Regions from separate parts of the Homo sapiens genome. Here region 2 is linked to region 1. The links are contacts of gene promoters, found by promoter capture Hi-C in blood cells and fetal thymus (Javierre and others, 2016). All regions are on one chromosome and are shown on one strand. The core of a region is centred on a gene start or on the middle of the fragment in contact, and the rest is flanking DNA. Distances in the headings are between cores, read along the strand shown.

Evidence for each region. Contacts are between HindIII fragments. The CHiCAGO score rates a contact against its expected background, and 5 or more counts as called.
Region 2: a fragment that was not itself captured here is called in contact with the fragment with the promoter of TRDN-AS1 in region 1 in 2 of 17 cell types (erythroblasts and endothelial precursors); the score reaches 5.7 in erythroblasts.

The regions. Positions count from the first base shown.
Region 1 is chr6:123,437,765-123,441,353 of GRCh38, forward strand. TRDN-AS1 (TRDN antisense RNA 1) reads left to right here and starts at 1,840. Exons shown (of 3, transcript NR_110844.1): 1 at 1,840-2,013. It overlaps TRDN (triadin), which reads right to left. Exons shown (of 41, transcript NM_006073.4): 11 at 1,180-1,239; 12 at 299-358. The HindIII fragment of the contact is 3,987 bases long and covers 1-2,952 here.
Region 2 is chr6:123,718,338-123,721,926 of GRCh38, forward strand. No RefSeq gene overlaps it. Among named protein-coding and RNA genes, the nearest start is that of TRDN, 83 kb to the left of the region's middle. The HindIII fragment of the contact is 1,197 bases long and covers 1,230-2,426 here.

The sequences.
Region 1 (3,589 bases), core at 590-3,089:
CAATATGCAAAAACAGATGTCCTGTGATTCCCCATACCAGCCATTACAAACATTCCTGCGTTTTTTTGGGGGGGAATTGAGTTCAGACTCAATTCCAGTCTCTCTGTCCTATTGCAATAGCCTTGAATAAAGTCTTCTTTGCCTGTTTAACTTTGTCTAGTGCAAGTTTTGCTTTGACCTTCACGTCTTGGGTAGATATAAGTAACTGTGTGCAATTTGTGTATGTTGCATGAGGAGTCTTTCATGAAGCAAACATCCTGAACGTAATCCATCTAAGGAAACAAAGAAAGTGCAATACCTTTTTTTTCCACATCAATGGCAGTTTCCTTCTCACTTTTCTTTTTGATATCTTCTTTTTCTGCTGGTAAAATAAGAAAGTTATAAGCCTTTACCTGTTTAACTTGCAAATATTTCAGGGCATGCATGACTACCAGTGAGGCATCTAATTTATCTTGTATAGAGAAATCTTAAATCAGCCATAAGTCATGTCAAATATGAATAAGGTAGCACCTTCATAACAGACTAGTGGCTTAGGTATAATTTCTCTTCAGGAAACAGAACTTTTTTTTTTTTGCCAAAGGCAAAAATTATTTAATAACAGTGAAAACATTAAATGGCATTATTAATTATGGTATTATTTAACAGCTTTCCTAACATATATTGAAAAGAATATATTGAATGTTCTCTGAGCTATGAGGTCACCAGAACCATGTCAAAAGTTCTGAAATCTCTGAAGTTCACTTGGGACATCAGATAAATTATTTGAAAACAACCAATTAAAATATATATATATGTGTAAAACAAACCAATCAAGTATTTTCTGCCCTCTACATAAAATGACTTTTAAAATTAGACTGAATTAGTTAAATAGTAACCATCATATTCACATATATAGTTAAAGTAAAGTAGTGAATTAGAGAGAATTAAGCAGCTGCTCTTAAGAAAGAAAAAATAATCACAGTAGTAATTTTCAAAAAGTGTTTAGGATTGAATTCTCTTTTTAAAAATTGACAATTTTAATTTTATTTGGAATATCTAGACATGTTAAGAGTGTTCACTAATAACAATGACAATGCATTTATTAAGGGAATTTCTTTCCTAGAAAATAATAGATTTACCAGTAGTATTATGCATGGACACTAATTGATTTATGTGGTACATGGCTTTTAAATTTCCTACCTTTCTTTTTTGTTTCAGAAGTAACTTTCTTCTCAGCCTTCTTCTTTTCCCCTTCTTTTTCTAGAGAATACATTTAAAATATTTCCTTTAGGGAAATTTAGTATGAAAGCAAAACCAAGGTTGAAATGAAGGATTTTTGTTAAGTCAGTTCTGCCTCCAGCTAGCTTTGTGACTGAGCAAGTAATTTAATCCCACTAAGTCTTATTTTCCTCATTTATCAAATAATAATACCTCCCTCAAAGTTAATGTTTACAAAACACTGTGTAAAGTGCCTGGCTCACAGTAAATGTGTAACGTTGTAGACTGCTAATACTGTTTACAAATAATGAATGTGATAGTTTGAACTTTCTGAACCAAACAATTGTTTATCTAGTGCCTAAAAGTATTGATATATAAAATTAAAATATATTTCTTGGAAAATATACTGCAGATAAACTAGAAGAATTAATATTTGTTTTCTTTTATACATTTAATTTCATTAGAAATAATATATTAGACCATTAAAAAGGTATCTTTTGATGTAGCTGTTTTTCATATCTGGCTCTTGCCAACAGGCATTTAAGCCTGATGACAAGTGTCTGGCAGTGTGTTGGAAACATAACTTCCACGGTCCTTTCTGAGTGGTTGTATCAACAAAGCTGTTCAATCTTTGCACCCAGAGGTTGCAGTAAGTCTGGATGCCACATCAAACTGTTTGTGGTACTTCTAAACTTCGTGGAAGAGCCCTGTTTCATAAATCTGAGACAGCCTTGGTCTGAGGGAGCAAAGACAGAGAATTCACGTGCTGCCCAGGCATAGCCACATAGCAGGTGGACATCCCTGGACACTTTTCTGGTAAGCATAATCATTTTAGATAACAAAGTCCTGTACTAATACATAGTTGTTGAAATTGAATGTTCAGTGGTTTTAGATTTGGGACAATAATAGCTACGGTTAATGTTGTAAATGTACTGATTTTTATCTTCAATTAGCAGTGCTATTTACCTTATATTTGAAATTCCTTTCTCTTTGTCAGTTGTCTCTCATCTCAGGTACAGGTACATTCAAAGACTTCCGTTACCCAGAACTATTATAAGATCATTATTATGCTAAAGAAATTCAATATGTAGTTCTAGAATGAATCCTTAAGTTGTCTACTAATGACTGCATCTTATTAAATAGAGGAATTAACTCATTCCCATAGGTATAGAGCTTTTTTACCTACAAGATCAAAGACAACACTTTCTTTCAATGTTAGACATATAATTTATAAAGAACCCCTTTCATGATTTCTAGAGATAATCTAATGTCTCAGGGAAAAATGTATTCACACTTTGTCTAAAAGTGTCTACAGCATACTATTACAGCTCATCCAATCAGAAGTAGAAAGTCAAGAAGTCAAATTTTGATAGTTTCAGAGATAGAAATAAACCAATTGATTTCCACTTCTTCTTTTCTAAAGGTTTATGCATATTAAACATGTAGATCATATTTAAAATTCTGAATGAAGATACTTTCAAGTATCACTACTTTCAGCTTCTCTGGGAGAAATTTTATGTAGTAGTGAATTTTACATCTTCTCTAAATAAATGTATATGCCAGACAATTGAATAGCCATTTGCTAAGCATCACCTCTGATGTCATGTATCAGCAAAGGGGTTAATTAAAATACAAATGACTTGTAAATATTTCTAAGCTCAAGCTAAACACTAATGCCATACTAACCATAAGATCAGAACTCAGTATCCAAGTCTCCAAGTTTCATAAGGTTGATGAATAAATATTTCATTAAAAAGCTTGTGCCAATTAGTCAATCTTACACCGAACTTCACAAAGAAAGTAGATATTTGAACCCAGAATATGGAAGGCATTCATTTATTTTTCAATTTTCTTTTAGACAATGCTCTTGTGCAACAAATTCTACCCTTCAAATTAATATAGCTGGAATTTTATTGTGGTGATACAGTATTCTTGTCTTCGTCCAAATTGAATTAATGCTCCTATTATACACTCTGCTTGTGATTACAGTCATACACTGTGAGAGTCATGAATAAGAGCAGAAGTCCACAAAATGCAGATTAATGTCCTTTAATAACATTTTTATGAATTAGACCTTTAAGCTGTCATTATGAGACTTACTTTATTCATGCTGAATTTCATTTAAAATGTCAACTTCTCAAGATTCTACATTTCCTCAAGCACTATTGTCTCTGTTATATAGGTGATTTGGTAGCAATGGAATTAAATTTTTCACTTATAAAAACATAACAATTTGATTATATCCTACTTGGATATAAAAATAACCCATGTTTCTTTTATGAAAACTTCCTTGCCCCTGACTTTTTCTTCCTCAACAGCCAAGAGTACTCTTCCCTTTCTGTCTACCTGACTTTGAACACACATAAAAAATTTCCTCTTCCATCTCTTTCTC
Region 2 (3,589 bases), core at 578-3,077, 280 kb after region 1:
TGGTCTCTGTGCTGCCTCTTCCAGGAGGAGAAATGTTGTATCCTCAAATGGCAAAAGAGCAGGAAAGGGGAATCCACTCCCACAAGCCTATTTTATAAAGTGATATTCATCCTTTCTTCAAAGGAGAGCCTTCATGACCTAAACATTTCCCCCAAAGGCCCAACCACCCAATAATAACACATTGGGGATTGAATTTCCAATATATGAGTTTTGAAAGGGAAAAAAATTCAAAACATAGCACAGGTCTTGAAGTCAGTTATCATAAATCCTGTAACTCATTTTTTTTTTTTCAAATTTATTTTGGCAAGTCTAGATTCTTTGTATTTCTATCTGAATCTTAGGATCAGCTTGTCAATTTATTTCCCTGGAAAAGGCTGCTTATATTTTTGTAGGGAACACATTGAATCTGTAAATTAAATTGAAGGAAATTAACATGTTGGTAATATTGAGCCTTCAAATCCATGAATATAGTTTATGTATCCATTTATTTAGGTTCCCTTTAATTTTTCTCAACTTTTTGTGGTTTTCAGTGAATAGGTGTTTCAAATTTCTTTTCAAATATTTCTAAGAATTTTATGTATTTGATGATATTACAAATGGTCTTGTGTTATAAATTTTAATTATCAATTTTTATTGCTAGTTTGTAGAAATACATTTAACATTTATATATTGATCCTATATTGTACAATTTTGTTAAATTCATTTACTAATTCTAGTAGCATTTTAACACATTCATTAGATTTCCACATAGACAATTATGATCAGGACAGGAGGTAGAGAAATTCTAGGCAGACAGCGGTGGGTCCCTGGCAAAACCCCACCCTCAAGCCTGAAACCATGGCCTGAAATGGGAACTTATTCCCTGTTTTCCCACCCAAATATTGCTTTTTCCAAAACTACCCATGGCCCTGGCCCCACCCCGCCCCATCCTGTGGCTATGAAAACCCTATACTCAGCAGGCAGAGAGAGGAGAAGTAGCTTGACATCAGAGACTATGGCTGGATGTCAGAGAGAAGCAGCTTGATCTCAGAGGGCCAGCATGATGGTGTAACTTCGGAGAAGAACCCAGCCGGAGATGGCTGGAATTCAGGAGAAGATTACCTTCTCACCCCATCTCCTTGTCAGCTCTCCTTCTGGCTATTAGCCACTTTCATCAGAAATAAAATCCCCCACATTTACCATCCTTCAATTTGTTCATCCAACCTTATTTCTCCTGGACACCGGACAAAAGCTTGGAAGTCACAAGTGCCAATATAAAAGACAGAGGCCCACTTAACACTTAAGTTAACACTTAAGTCATCAGCAGAATGGCAGAGCTAAAAGAGCACTGTAACACTTCTTCTGTGGCTTCAGAGGTTGTGGGTCCGCATGGAGTTTTGCTCCTGCTTGCACCCAAAAGTGCTCTCCTCAGCTCCTGCACCTGCTCACCTGCACACTCCCTCCTGCAAGTGGTGGAATGCATCAGGTGCAGGTGAGTGGAGTTTGCCCCTGCCATAGTGGCTGGCTGCTTCCAAAATTCCCACACTCCAGCTCCTGCCCCGTTCACTTGTGTACTCCCTCCCGCAAGGAATTGAAAACTGCAGGCTGGGTAAACAAGTCACCCCTGTCACAAGTCCCACGAAAGGTCAGGGAAATATCCTGCTTCAATTATGTCGTTTGTAAATAAAGACTTTTGTTAGATTCTTGTTCAGACTAGATGCCTTTTATCTCTCTTTCTCTTTTTTTAACTAATTGCATTGGCCATTACTTCTAGTACAATATTGAGCCAAAGTGTTGAGTGTGGAACTCCTCATCTTTCTTTCTGATTTTGAGAGTAAGCATTCCGTTTTTCACTATTATGTGTGACGTTCATTGTAAGATTTTTGTAAATATTCCTTAACAGGTTGAGGAATTTATCTTCTACACTTAGTTTGCTGAGGGTTTTCCCCTGGAATGACTGTTTGATTTTATGGAATGAATTGTCACTATCTATTGGGCTTTTATTTTGTTTCGTTTTAGTTTTTAAATGTAGCAAATTACACTGATATTTTTTTATTTTAAACACTTCACATTCCTATGATAAACACACTTGATCATAAACTTTATTTTCTGCATAGTTAAATTATATTTGCTAAAATATTGTTTAGAATATTTCTATCTATGTCCCTGAATGACAGTAATTTGAAATTTTATTTTGTAATATTTTTGTCCAGTTTTGGTCTCAGGGAAATACTGACTTCATAGAATAAGTTGGAAAGTATTCTTTCTTCTTCAATTTTCTGGAAGAGTTTTTAGTAAAATTGGTATGTTTTCTCTCTTAAACATTTGGCCTAATTCACAAGAGAAGCCACTTATGCCTAGAGCTTTTTTTGACAGGTTTTCTAACTAAAAAATTTACTTATTTAGTAAATGTAGGACTATTTGAGTTATCCCTTTCTTCTTGAGTAAGCTTTGGTAGTTTGTGTCTTTCAAGTAATTTATTTATTTTTATTTTTATTTTTTTTTTCTGACTAATCCGAGTTAGTCAAATCCTGGAAGGAATTTCAGGAAATTCCTTCCGTAAAACTGCAAAATCAAGTTAAGGATTAGAGGCATGGGGATGAAGCTGCAGGAGTAGCTGCAAAAGTGAGATATTTGTATAAAACACATTAATATACACCAGAAAGAAGCCCCTATACCAACAGAATTAAACATCCAGTCACTGTAGCCACCTTAGGGCTTTGGCATTTGGGTCATGAATGGAGTAGCCATGGTGATAGAGAGTGAAGCTATGCACGAGCCCACCAGCATAGGCTCCCCCTCACTAAGGCTAATCTACTTTTCCTCCTGTTAATATGTCCAACCTGTCAGGAACAGAGAGAGACCAATGCTAAGTCCCCAGTATAGTACCCACCCACAAGGAAACTAATCAGACATTTGGTGGATAAATGATGACATTGAACCCCTTCTACCCTCAAAAGGGCAACATTTTTTTGTGATCAAAATTAATATACCTTCTGGATATGTGTTCACCTTTCTTCCTCACAGTGATTCAGCAAGCACTACTACCAAGGTTTCACAGAGTTTTCATCTCCTAATATAATATCCTACATATTAATATCCTACATAATACTATCACCTCAGACCAAGGGATCAACTTCACCTTAAAAAAGAAATATAACCATCAAATCAATTAGTCCTACCACATAATGCACAGTTGGAAACCACCAGCCTAAGAGAGCAATGAAATAGCCTCTTATAGATACAGCTGAGGTGCCAGCTTGGAGATGCTATCCCCTACAAGCATGGGGTGCTACCACTCCCCATGTGGTATATATTTTATACCAATTGTCATTTTATGGCGTTGATCCACAATAGGTAGAGAACATGGGTTTAGTAATCAAAGGGGGATGTAGGAGTGGTCCTGGTCATCATCACTTATTCCTAAAGACTTACTTAGGGAATTTTTGTTTCCTGTCCCCACAGGTTTAGGCTTTGCCAGTCTAGAGTTTCTGTTTCCCAGAGCATGTATTATTATGCAAGGATACATAGTTACAGTCCCTCTAGATATAAAAATATGTCTGCTGCCTGGTCATTTTGTACCCCTCATGCAGTTAGAGCATGAGCAGAT